4 separate regions of the Homo sapiens genome follow, and regions 2, 3 and 4 are each linked to region 1. Evidence: promoter capture Hi-C in 16 types of primary human blood cells and fetal thymus (Javierre and others, 2016). All regions are on one chromosome and are shown on one strand. Each heading gives the region's core, a stretch centred on a gene start or on the middle of the fragment in contact. The rest is flanking DNA. Distances are from core to core; before and after follow the strand shown.

Region 1 (3,260 bases), core at 216-2,715:
TTAACGGGTTTAAAGCCTCTTGGCAGACCTCGCTTTCCCCAGTAGGTTAGAGCAGGCGAAGCGACACGATCTCTTCTCTAGGAAAAGAGGCGTGGTGGGTGCCCAGTGTTTGCGAAGCAGCCACCCATGGCCGACCTCTCGGGTCCACCCAATCGTGGCTATCTGCCTGGGTCCGGGCAGCGCCGGGCGGCCCCTCGCGGGTGGTCGAGGCGCCACGCACAAGAACAATCCCGACCGAAAGGCACGAACCGCCTCTTTTTGACCATCTGGAAAGGTTCTTAAAGGACCCACCGAGTGTTCCCACCCCACAGATACCATTTAAAAATCAAATGGATGTGTAATTCCACAGACAGCTACGAATAAAGATTTAGGACAGTGGGAAAGCCTCATCAAAAGGTACCGAAGCCCTCTGTCTGGCCCCAGCCAGCCACCTTTCCAAGAACCCAGGGCACGCCGCCGCGGCATACAATAAGACAGCCTTTCCCTCCTCGCCTTTCTCCACCACCATCCCCATTGCGCCCCCCTTTCCCGACTCCCCCCCCCGCCACACACAATCACACCACCAGTTCAGAAATCTCGAAGACAATCCAGCTTCGACAACAAACCCGAGAGACACCCAAACACCATTGTGCCCCCAAACACAAATGAAACCTGGCTGGGGGCGGGGGAAGGAGGGCACCTAGCTAGTCACGTTCTGCCAATCTCCAAACCACGCCATTTTAGACGATTTATCACTCCTTTCCTCCCGTCTACTCAAGAATTCTCCAGGATTCTAAGGAACCACTCCTTTGGTGTGGGGGGACCCCGGCTATGAAAAATCCACAATTTAGGCTATCCATTTCCATTCAACTTTCAGACTAGAATCCAGCCACACTCCTCTCCACGAATGAGCCTTGGGAGCCACCAGGAGGGAAGGAGAGAAAGACACGAAATAAATGACCACAACCACAGGTAGAATTTACCTGTCCGTTCGCTTTGGAAGGCGACGAGGCCACAGCCGCCTCCCCAGGCCTCTCCGCGGCGGCTTCTCCCTTCGCTGCGGTCTTGGAGAACTGGGCACCCATGCTGGCTTCTTCAACAAAGAAACTCAACAGATCCAAGAGGGGAAACAAAGAGCCTCGGGTTGGTGTAACGACGGGGCGAGCAGCAGCAGCAGCGGCGGCGGCAACAGCGGCAGCGGCACACACACCGGAGGGAGGGGGGTGGGGGTGGTGGAGAGGACAGAACAGAACCGATTAAATACACTCCGGATAAAAAAATTTTAGTCGAAGAGATCAAAAAGCAGCAGCACAGGAGGGAGGGAAAAAGGGTGGAAAAGTCGAGCACAAAAAAAGGAGCCCAAGTGTAGTTCGAAAAAAAAAGAAGTAATAAAAAAATCCCAGATTTGTAGCCGCACTGTAGACAAGAGGAAAATGGAGAAATCTCCCTGGTTGCTAATAAGATGCGGGGTCCAACGCCCAAGTGCACAGATGAATGGGCTCGCGGGCGCTGACGCGGCCCCCGCGCGCGTCGGCCAATCCGCGCGCCGCACACAAAGCAGGGGGCGGGGTCTGCGCGCCTGGCGAACAATGGAGCCGCGCTTTGCAAACGGTTTGAAAATCAGCCTCAGACCGAGAATTAATGTCCTCCAAATAAATAAATCAATTAAAAAATACATGGCACTCGTCTCTCTCTGCTTGAAAATAATAATGCATTTCTTGATTGGCTTGCTTTGTTTGGAATTAATTAACACGGGAGGGGGGTACTTGTGCATCGGGGCGGAGAAAGCGTTAACTTGACTCGCATTGACTCTCGTCGGTCTATATCCGTGTGTCTCTCTCTCTCCACTCGCTCCCCTCCCCCATCTTTCCGTGTGTTTATGTGTATGTGTGTGTATGCGAGTGTTAAAGACAATGGTTGCGATTTGTGTGTTTGCAGCATGTTTTCTTTCTTTTTTCCATATTGGTTTTACAGATAATGCTCAGGGTTTGTTTTTTGAACTGCTGCAATGGTTAAATCGTCCCAAATTGAAAGGTATTTAAACCACGAAGATCGAATTTCATCAAGCGAGATCGCAAGTTAGAATTAGGTCTGTAGGCCAGATGTGGAAAATGCAAAAGCGGCAAACAGCGAAGCCACACTCCCTTCCCTCTCCCACATTGGCATGAAATAAAATATTTTGAGATTGGCCTTGGGCGCTCAACAAATTCCCCCTTCTCTGGCTATTCCCAATTAGTGATTTTTTTCCCCCACAATTCAAAGTGAGAGCCATTTACAGAAGATCGAAACTCTTCGCGTTTTATCACTGTTTTAAATGACATAATTTTCCTCTATGGTGAAATGAGACACAGCCTCGAGTAGACGAATCCATATTTACAGTTGGGATGTTATTCGCGTCAATATGGATCGTTTTCAGCCTACTGCCAGAATCGAATGGACTCTTTTTGAACGTGTGTGTGAGTGCGCACGCAGGCGAATGTGCTCCTGAAAGGAAGGGAGGCAGCAGCAACGATGACATTCTAAACCGGATTGCAGTTCTAAGGAGAAATGTTCTGTATGTTGAGAGATAGCAAGATCCCTGAGCTCTCCAAGTCTAACTTGGGTTAGAGGAAAACCTTCTATAATGGTACACAGGATACCTCCATCTGTCACTGCACTCCTTGCCACCGAAGTACCAGACGCTTTTTGTGCGTGAGAGACAAGGCACTGACTTAAAGTATGAGGGGTGAGGGGAACCAAGGAAACAGCTTAATAAGCATTTTCTTCCCAAAGTTTTCACTCGTGGCAAAATCAGACCACCTTTTCTCGTTTACATTTGGTGATCTTGCAAGGAATAATCTTTCGCTTATGAAGGTGAGAAGCAGTCGAGGGAATGGTTCATTTCTCCTGGTGCTGGCTCTGAATTCTCAAACAGTTTTATTTTCTGCTCATTGTAGGGAAATAGGTCACACTCTGAGTGAAAAAGACGGTTGGTTCAAGCCAGTAACTCTTTGTTCAAGCGTTGCTTTAAAAATCACCAAGCTGAACATTGTTACGTGAAGCTTCGTCTTCTCACTGTCCAGTTCCTTCAGATGCATTATTCGACCATGGTCATATTCCCCAGAGCTGATGTAAAGACGTTTCCGTAGAAATGCATCTTGCCAGCAAACGTGTTATTACCCTTAAGAGAGCCCGCTGGCCTGGCCCACGACCCCAGCCGCCAGGATGGACGCAAATCCCTTGTATTAGCAGTTCCAACTTGAAAAGCCAACTGGGCTGATCCGACACCACCATCCAGGCGA
Region 2 (3,260 bases), core at 420-2,919, 3.0 Mb after region 1:
AGAACAGCTAACACTCCTAAAACGCCCATTGGTCCACACCCTGGGGCCAGGCTCTGAGTGCGGCCCAGGAGCCCATTGGTCGCCGCCTCTCAATGAAGCTGGCCACGCCAGTTACTCCGCTGCACCGCCACCCTAGCCGCACTCGTGCGCAGAGGAGCCAGGGATCCGGTGGCAGGGCCTAGGAAGGCCATTGGTGGCCACCGGTGCGACCGCCGCCAGGAACAAGGCCTAAGCATCCACGGGATCTCTGGGCTTTTATATAAGCATGGATTTCCACAGCAATACCAACTAAAACGCCTCTTCGGCGCGGTCAGCCCAAGTATCTCTCGCGTGACGGCCCGCAGTGGGAGTGGGCCCCAGATTCCTTTGCTCAAGCTTAAGGCATTAGAGGCATTATGTCCTGGGGCAGGCGGGCCTCCCTCCACCCGCACCTCTCCCGCCCCGCTCCGCCGGCTCCGTAGCAGGTTACACAACCCAAGGTCAAGAGATTGGGGAGCAGCCCCCAGCGGCCTCAGCGGCCGTGTCGAGGGCGGCCCCGGGGACTGCGCCGTCTGCCCAGCCGCCCCGAAAAGGCTCTGGCGCAGAGCATGTTAGGGGAGCGGTGGGGCCCCGCCACTGCGACATAACTGCTCCCGCCCAATCCCCGCCGCCCGAACGCCACATGCTGCCCGCGGCCGCCGCGGGTGGGAGGCCTCTTCGCCAGCCCCTCAGACAAGGCCGGGAGGGCCCCTCCTATCCGCGCCCGAGGCAAGAACAAGCGCCGCTCCCGCCCTCCATTCCCCGAAGCCGGCACGCCCGAATTAGCGCCTGACTAAGCCCGCCGAGCCACACCTGCCGGAGGCAACCCGCGCAGGCGCCCCCGACCCCCACCTGGGGCCCCTGCCGCCAACTACTACGGAGGGAAATGTCGGGAGGCGCGGGCCGCAAAACCACCCCGGGCCGCGCCGCCCGCCGCCCAGCGCGGGACGTTACCTGAGCACGCGGCCGCGCCGGCCTCCTCCCCTCCCCCAGGGCAATGCCAGGCGCGGCAACCACGGCGGGAGAAGCCGGCTCCGGCCCGCGTGGACATGGCCGCTCTCCCCCAAACCGCGCACCTTCCAAGGCCGCCGAAGCGACCCCAGGCCGCAGACTTGCCCCCAACTGAAAGCTGAGGGAACTCGGGCTCCACCCGTGGCTGGTGCCTCGGCGGCGGCGACAGCCCCCAGGCCCGGATGTCAGCGAGCGCCCCGGGGACCCACCTTGGGATAGTGCGAAGATCCCCAGATCCTTGGTTTGCGTCGGGCTGCTGCCGGGAGAACCAAACCTCCAGCAGCTTCTCGGTCCCTTCGAAAAAATGTGCAGCTTCCATCACCGTGAGACTAGCGAACAACCAACAACCACAGAAAATCAACTAAATTAAACCTCTTCTCCCGCCGCTGCCGCCGCCGCTGCGGATTGTTCCAGCTGTGTTACTAAAGTTCAGGTTCCTTTTTTTTTTTGCTATAATTTTATATTAACTTTTTTTAAAAAAAGGACTAATAAAATTTTCCCGGCTTTGTGTGAGCGAAAGTTGAACGTGAGTCTTTTGGAAATAGAGGCAGATACAGTTCAGTCTCTTGTATTCCGCTGCTTTCCCGTTAGAGAGAGTAGAGCGAGCGCTAGCTAATGTCGCCGGCCATACTGTGTAAGCGAGAGCGCTGCGTGAGCACCGCCCTTATATATCCCGGCTCCCCCCAAAAGACCAGGAAGTGACGCATCGTCCCACCTCCACGGCCTATAGCTGCTGCCGCCTGTCAATCACTCGCGGCCGAGTGGCGGCTGGCTGGCCGAGGGCCTGGCGGAGAGCGCGGGGAGCTGCCCACTGCGCTGCGGCTCGGGCTCTGGCCGGCTCCTGAGTGGGAGTTGGTGCTGTGATGTCCAGCTGGGGACTAGAAACCTCGGATCGAACGCAGAGTGGGTGGGGAGAGCGGGAACGGAATGAGGAAAGGCTGTGCAGAGCTGTTTAGAAAAAAAAAATGATTAGCAGAAAACATGGGTGGGTCCTTAGGGGTGTTGGCGGGGTTCAGCGGGGACGGTGGCCAGCGCTGGGTTGGCGTGGTGGTTTTGATCTTGTGCAGTTCACCGCGACTGCTGAGGTACTTGGCCATTCTTAAAAGTGTGTTTTCCCAAGGCGAACGCAGCCAGGCGTTAAAACTAAACATTTGTCCGTGACGCGCACGTTGCCAGGGGTCGAATTAGAAGGCGCTTTAATTCTGCTCACGCCTTGGCTGATGTGCGAATGAAAGCAGTCCTCGGCTGGTTTATACAATAGCCAGAAGCATTGTCTTCCTATTTCAGAAGAGAAAAGCAACGTGGCGCCCAGCCTTGGAGGGCCCCGGCTTTACCCACCTCCCACCGTGTGGCTCGCCATGCCTCCGAATTGGCTGAGCACAGCAGCCTCCGGGAAGCACTGGCAGCTCCGTTGCTCCATTAGCTCAACTGGTGGGAATTTATTCAGCAAAACTACTTCTAGAAACTGAATGTGTTAAATATAATCTGAACTTATTTGATCATGTTTTTCTTTGAATTTTATCAAGCTGATGTATTAATTGATGGAGGTTCTCCTTACCCCCCAAAATTTACAGTGCTATCTTCCCATGTGCTTAAGAAGGATTTACCTGGAAATTAATAAAACAGGGATTCCAGAGCTATCACTGGTGGTAACTTAAATAACTATCAGTCTAATATTTTATAAGTGTTAAGTATAAAATAGTCGTCAAGCCATGGTCAAACAGTTTAACCTCAGATGGCAAAACTGGTAACAAAGTTATTACTTTTACTTGGGAATATGGGAGGAAAAAAACCCAAGCTGACATAAAAATTGCTATTGTCACAAGACAAAAGGACTTTTCGCTATCATCCTTAGAAAAAAACTTTCCCCAAAGTGAAATAAGATGATGTCAACATGAAAAATCCACTGAAAAAGACATGGTTTGGGTTTGCACTCTAGATACCCTGTAGAATAGCTCTTGTCTTACAAGAACGTGGTTCACGTGTCTCCGTGAAACCTGTTGAAAGAAGCTATGTTGTGAGCTAGGTACATAAACTACTCTTGCTTTGTTTTGTTTGTCTGAGACGGAGTCTCGCTCTGTTGCCCAGGCTGGAGTTCAGTGGCGTGATCTCGGCTCACTGCAACCTCTGCCTCCTGGGTTCAAGCGATTCTCCTGCCTTAGCCTCCCGAGTAGCTGGGATTACAGGTGCATGCCAACACACCCGGCCAATTTTTGTATTTTAGTAGAGAC
Region 3 (3,260 bases), core at 453-2,952, 2.4 Mb after region 1:
TCATCTTATTACTACAGTCAGTTTCTGTGGACTACCAAGATAATAGCGCTTTCCCAAACACAAGCACTCATTTTAAAGCAGTTATCTTTTAATGTGAATTCTCTTTGTTAAAATGTCAATGTTGTGAGATTTGGTAGCATATTCCTATTTAAACTAGTGAATATGATTTTGATATGAACCTTGAAAGATGGGGAATTTGAGTGCTTTTAACGTGTTGAAAGTGTAACACTTGAAACTTTGGAGGCTGGGAAATCGAGGCGATGAAGTGTTCTATAAGATAGGTTTTCTGCCCTTTTAAATATAGTGGTGCTGTCTTTGTTTCCAATTGGAATTTCAGTGTAATGCACTGTTCTCACTTCAGATGCAGAGGAAGGATAAAATAGTGAAGTTGATATGGCCCTGTTCAGCCAAATTTCCGAATCATAAAGTGACATGCTAATAGGATATACTGTGGCATTTCTGTGTATTACAGCTTGTATGGTTTGAGTTACTTTTCCACACATAATTTTTTCTCCTCCACACAAGTCATTAAATATGTTTTCCTGAGAGATAGTCAAGCTTTGTTGTATAGGAAAGTTTCGTTTGTGGAAATAAATGAGTTTCACTGTAAGCTAATGTAATTCTATTACGTGAGGAAATGTTCCTTAAAAAATAAAGAATATTATATACTGTTGTTTTCCTGAATATTTTTTAAAAGACACATTAACTATTTCCTATTTAATCCTTCATGGACATCCCACAATAGATTACCAGCACCTTAAAAAAAAAAAAAAAAACAAAAACGAAAAAACCAAAGACTAAAAACCCCCATTGGGGTTTTTTTTTTGGTACATACTTTGAAATTTATATTTTAAATGAATTAAAAAGTAACACTTTTTATATGTACATTGAAAGACATAAAACTTGATACAGAGAAAGTCAAATTTTAAATTGTTAAGGATTATCAAATTGAATTTGCCATGTAGTTCACAGTTTCCAACAAAATGTTTGTTTCAACAAGAAAAAATTTGAAGTCATTGGCATACATTTAGAGTTTACACTTTTCATAAACCAAGCCAGCATTTTTATTAGCACGTCAGAAACTCCCAGTGAGATTAATATTAATTAAACATAATCAAAAACTGCAGAATTACCTGCTTTTGAATTATCTCCCCAAGGAAAACTAGTCCAATAAAATAAAACTTGAAAATTATTAATATAAAAGAGAGGCCAGTCTGACTTAGTAAAACTCTGAATGCTAGAATTTTTAATGAAGACAGATTTATTTGAAAGTAAAGATGTAAACATAATGCAAAGATATAAACATGGTTTGTATTATATCTTTATAGTTTATATCTTTACTAACAAGTAAAATAAGGTAATAAAAATGTGTAACACATGATAAACCTATGCTACATAAAATAGCATAAACATACTTTTTTCATATATAAGAATTACTTTGGGAGGTCCTTAATGCTTTACTTTGGTTTGGAGAGAAAATGTTTTAAAATTGACTTTGCTTTACAAATGAGATCCTGAAAAATAGCAACCAAAGATATTTTTTCTCAAATGAAGTGGCCGTTTCAAAATTATATTACAAATTCTGAACTGATTGGATTAATACCCTTTTACTAGTTTAGTTTTTCTATTATTGCCTGAAAAGCATTTTTCTGCTTTAGAAAACAGTCCAGTTGACTTTTGATTGTTCTGTGTTTTGAGGACGTATCTTGAGTAATTTAAGAAATAAAGTGTTTTGGGTTTAAAAGCTCCCATGTCTTAAGTTGGTGAAATTTGAAAAGGTATTTTTAAAAAGAGGGATATTCAGGGCTGGGTGCTGTGGCTCATGCCTGTAATCCCAACACTTTGGAAGACAGAGGCAGGAGGATCGCTTGAACCCAGGAGTTGGAGACCAGCCTGGGCGACATAGTCTGTACAAAACAAACAAACAAACAAACAAAATTGGCTGGGCGTGGTGGTGTGCACCTGTAGTACTAGCTATTTGGAAAGCTGAGACAGGAGAATCGCTTCAGCCCAGAAGGTTGAGGCTGCAGTGAGCCAAGATCACGCCACTGCACTCCAGCCTGGGCAACAGAGCAAGAGCCTGTCTTAAAAAAAAAAAAAAAAAAGGCGGGGGGGGATATTCAGATTTGAATGGTAAATCCTGACTGATTTAATCCCTTGCCAACTGAGGATATTGATTCCTAAGGGAATCACTTAAAGTTTCTTCATCTGAGTTATGGAATTTTTTAAAAAACAAAAACAAATTTCCTCTCCATTTTTTTAACTAGTTTTTAAAATGTCTTGAACATTATTTTGACATAATCAAATTGAGCAGTATCATTTGTAGAATAAATTGTTAATTTTTTCTTTTAGAACAACATTTTGGTAACTTGTTTTAATGGAGGGAAGAAAGGTTGTGAATAAAGTATAGGACAATGTTTTTTCATTTAGATTTGAATATAGGTGTGACCACTCAGAGGATTCACTACAAATGAAATCATCAGGCTTCATTTAAGGATTTGACTGAGGTGGACTTGGGAAGCTGTCCATTTTCCACATCTCGACTTTTGCTTAGTTGCTTGATGTAACTCACTTCATGCTGAGTTTAGACAGCTCTCACAGTTTCCTCAGCACCAGGTTAAACAGAACTATCCTTTCAAAGAGCTTCCCTGCTGAGATGCAGAGTAGGAGTAAATAGAAGAGTGTGGGATGTCCACAAAGCAAGGAATTAAACAAAGTAGGCCAGACAGACTATAGAGGGAGCTGCTTGTCTTTAAGATTACTCTAAGGAACTCTGCCACTTCCTCTAGCTTAGTGAATATTTTGGTAGATTGTTCTAGATACTGTTAGCCATGAAATCAAGCTTTTCAACATAAGGAATTGATAATTCTGAAATGCTATATAAGTTTATGTAGATGCTTATCCAATTATAAATATATTCTCATTGTTTATATTTTATAAAATTAAATATAAGAAACTACCAGAATAACCTTTTTTTTTTTTTTTGGTAAATTGGAGTTAAATTTGCAATAAGAATAATTTTGAAAATTAGCGTGTATCAACAACTCAGGTTCAAAAGTTTCTCTAATAGAATCTGCTTTGTTCATAGTCTGTTTTTTACTAAGCTATTTAAAAATATTTTAAGATCATATAACACCTATTTGATTACAATTATTGGAGAGATTTTCAGGAACGCTATGGAGATGTAATGACTCATCACAAACAAATTGGTCACTTTTTTTAAAGTAGGTATTTGAAGCCCTGAGTAGCAAGTTGTTTTA
Region 4 (3,260 bases), core at 1-2,500, 2.3 Mb after region 1:
AGCAGCAGTCAGGGCGAAAGGCTGGGAGACACGTGTCTCTGCGGGAGGGCTGCCTGGAATTGAGGCCTTATTACTGGCTCTAGCCAAATAGGAGAAAACAGGGAGTTTCTCGAATTAGTTCATGTCCCATTTGGGTTACCCAGGAAGGATAGTCTGTGCTATTGTCCACAGAGTCAAGGCAGGCCAGAGAACTGGCAGACAAGCCCAGCTCCAGAAGCCAGAGTTACTGCTGTAGCTGGACCTGGAAACCACTCCTCAGCTGGACCAGTCACTGTGTGTGGGGCCTTTAATGGGAGGGGAAGGGAAACTATGAAACACATCCTAATACCATGTAAGGGTGATGACTGTGATTAGAGACATTATTAGATGGCGGATACACAGAATCCTTAACTTTTTCCAGACCGTGACTTAAAAAAAAATTGTCATTGTTTCTTTTTGGCAATTACTTGCCATCAATACAGTTCAAACAGGCCCTAGCTGACTGGGATGGGCTGGTGCAGGACTTTTGGTTTCTGTGGGATGTCCTGGTGTAGTCCGTGTCATGTTTTTAGGCATTTCTCTCTATTCCCCTGGGATGAAAGGACAGGAATTTCAAGATATTTCACCTGCAATGAGTTCCTGATTTTATTTTCAAACAACGATGCACCATTATCTGAAAGCAGGCTAACTGTTGTGCACTTGCCAGCCTCGCTCTAATCCTTAAAGGCCACACACCACAGTCATTCTTAATCTGCTGCTGCAGCTACCAGTCACTCCATGATGGAGCATCAAAAGATGGATAATGTAGTTACTCTGCTCTGTTCCTTGCATGGGGTGGGTTAAACAGAAGTGAGGTCTGAGTAATGTACCAACATGTCGGATAGAAAGGTTCTTAACTCAGGGTTACTCATTTTTGGAAGGTGTAGAGACAGGAAATGTTAAAGCCTGCTTCTCCTGGGATTAAGGAGTTAGTGACTTTCAAATGCTCTGAAAAGAAAAAGAAGAGGAGAAGACAGTCATATCTGCAGGCATTCTTCAACAGGCATTCAGAAAGATTATGGTGGGGTAGTTTGTCTAAATGAAATCTTTGTTTTACACGTTGTAGAATGGAAATCTCAGGAATATCCTGAATTCAAATCATTTTTCTTCTGCAGGCAATTTTAAATTAGCTTCTAAAAACATATATGAATTGCAGGCAACTGCTGCAGAAAAAAAAGAGTGAACACAGATGAGGCATATTCAACTTTAAATTCCTTTCAGATCCAATGAAATGACCCCTAATGTTTGATCACATTTCCTTATCAAAACAATCCTGCAGTCTGAAGGATTTTTCCATGAGAAAGTGTCTGAGGACTGGAATCAAGAAGCTGCCCCCCGGGCCTCTCCTGTTTCTTCCCAATGCGTTGTCACCAAGATATTTTTAGTTCATGAAACTCAGGCTGTCCTTTCTCCCACTTATGGTCTTTGCCTCCCGTGCCCAGCAGGCCTCCTAGAAGCACACATGTGCTTGGCTGTGACTACTCAGCTCACTCTGTAGCTGTGTGTGCACGCCTTGTGTGTGTGTGTGTGTGTGTGTGTGTGCACACCTTGTGTGTGCACAGACCTTCCCGGATACCAGGAGTTGTAGACTGGCTGAAGAAGGGTGGGCTTCCATCCATGGGGTGATCCTTAGGTCTGTGCTGGTTTGGCTTGGTTCCCTGATAAGGCAGCTGAACTCAAGCCCTTTAGGAGGGCCAGGACTGACCGGAGCTCCCAGCCTGTGCCCCTCTCCTCGCACCCCACAGGCCGCACCCCACAGACTGAGGCTGCCTGGGGTCTTGGCAGCTCCCTCAGCAATGAGGGATACTTGCTCTCCGCTGCCTCATTGTTTCCCTGCAGTCAGGATGCCAGTGTTTTTTCCCTTTCCCCTTCCCAGAGTCAACAGGTCTCCCTCCCCGCTCTGAACTCTCTTCCTACTCTGAGCTGTCTGTCCAAACTCTTCCTGGCCTCCCAGCTTACCCTATGACACTCTTACCTTTCACCTATATTCATTCTTTCCCTTCTCTTCCAACTGCCCCTTCTCATACCCAGCACTACATACAAATTACAAGTAAATAAGTGTCTCTCCTACACCAATAAAAGGCAAATACAAAAAAATCCTTCAGCGTTTCCCCACTTTCCTTACTTCTCTTCCGTTCTCCTTCCTTCCTTTCTCTCCCTTCCTCTTCCTCTCTTGGTTTTTCCTTTCTACCCCTTCCTCTCCTTCACTCCGTGGCTGTGGCTGAATTAGGGATCACACATGTGCTTAGAGAAACCATCTTATCTGAAGAAACAAAAAAACAAAAACCAAAACAATGACAACGACAGAAAAAAAAAAAAAACATGGGCTGGTTTGAGGTTGTTCTCTAAATGTTTATTATAACTTCTAATGTGATGGAGTCAGTGTGTTCCCATTAGTCCTTCTCCTCCTCATTTAGTAGCTCAGAGGAGTCCCAGAGCAAACTTCCTCAAATCAGGTCGGTTCATACTGCACTGCCTTCAGCCTGATGTGAGTCTTACTGTGCTGGGTTTATGTCCAAGGGCCAGTAAATATTCCCTTCCTTCCAGGGCTCACCACTGTTTCAAATCCTCTGGCAAGCCCAGTGGAAGAACTTCTCTGTATGGGAAATTCAGCAAGTAAACTTGGAAGTATTTGTTCATTGGAGTTTGAATCTGAGCCAAACAGTTCACTCAAAACCAACCTTCCACTCAGCAAACCAGTGTTATGAAAGTTTGCATGCATTTGGGCAGGAAACAAAGGACATTAATGAGTTTAAAGATTTTTTTTTAAATCCATGACTTTTGGACATTTATTAAAAAGATTACTCTCTGGGGAATGAAGTAAGGCCTTGGGAATCTTGTAATTGAAAGTTTCTGATCCGAAGTAGATCTCAGGATCCTCCCAGCTGTAAATTTATAGATTTCTTTTTAATGTCCACCTGAAATATTCATGCTGTGTGTCTCTAGGACGCTTCAAACCTATTCCTGACTCAAAGAAAGCTTAAGAAAAAATCCAAGCAGTTGTGATCACCAAGGCCTGATTATGGAGGAGCTGTTAATATGGTTTATTAATTACTCAGGCTGCTCACTCCTGTCCTTCCTCTGTTCCTTGCTGTGCTATTTGTCTTCTTCTGGGGACATAACACCTTCATTAAATCCCATCCGTCCTTGCCTTAGAGTTGTCCCCTGGAAGATAGCTCCCCTCTAGATGCATCACCATTTATCATCACCCTTTGTTGGTGCTCTGTCAACCAGTTTTCAAT

Evidence for each region. The method cuts DNA at HindIII sites, captures the fragments that hold promoters and counts their contacts. A CHiCAGO score of 5 or more calls a contact.
Region 2: the fragment with the promoter of AMD1 here is called in contact with the fragment with the promoter of MARCKS in region 1 in 1 of 17 cell types (fetal thymus); the score reaches 5.3 in fetal thymus.
Region 3: a fragment that was not itself captured here is called in contact with the fragment with the promoter of MARCKS in region 1 in 1 of 17 cell types (fetal thymus); the score reaches 11.2 in fetal thymus.
Region 4: a fragment that was not itself captured here is called in contact with the fragment with the promoter of MARCKS in region 1 in 1 of 17 cell types (fetal thymus); the score reaches 5.7 in fetal thymus.

What each region holds. Positions count from the first base shown.
Region 1 is chr6:113,855,550-113,858,809 of GRCh38, reverse strand. It overlaps MARCKS (myristoylated alanine rich protein kinase C substrate), which reads right to left and starts at 1,465. Exons shown (of 2, transcript NM_002356.7): 1 at 963-1,465. The coding sequence starts at 1,064. RefSeq lists enhancers at 1,384-1,433, 1,221-1,764, 1,765-2,310, 2,581-2,630, 2,651-2,710. The HindIII fragment of the contact is 4,373 bases long and covers 1-2,596 here.
Region 2 is chr6:110,873,194-110,876,453 of GRCh38, reverse strand. AMD1 (adenosylmethionine decarboxylase 1) reads right to left here and starts at 1,669. Exons shown (of 9, transcript NM_001634.6): 1 at 1,239-1,669. The coding sequence starts at 1,348. RefSeq lists enhancers at 1-531, 532-1,247 and silencers at 495-684, 715-784, 845-1,094. The HindIII fragment of the contact is 4,442 bases long and covers 378-3,260 here.
Region 3 is chr6:111,478,355-111,481,614 of GRCh38, reverse strand. The region is part of intron 1 of REV3L (REV3 like, DNA directed polymerase zeta catalytic subunit); the gene reads left to right. Among named protein-coding and RNA genes, the nearest start is that of REV3L, 3.2 kb to the left of the region's middle. RefSeq lists an enhancer at 2,249-2,973. The HindIII fragment of the contact is 2,284 bases long and covers 561-2,844 here.
Region 4 is chr6:111,601,385-111,604,644 of GRCh38, reverse strand. All of the region lies in intron 1 of TRAF3IP2 (TRAF3 interacting protein 2), which reads left to right. It also overlaps TRAF3IP2-AS1. Among named protein-coding and RNA genes, the nearest start is that of TRAF3IP2, 2.9 kb to the left of the region's middle. The HindIII fragment of the contact is 3,499 bases long and covers 1-2,999 here.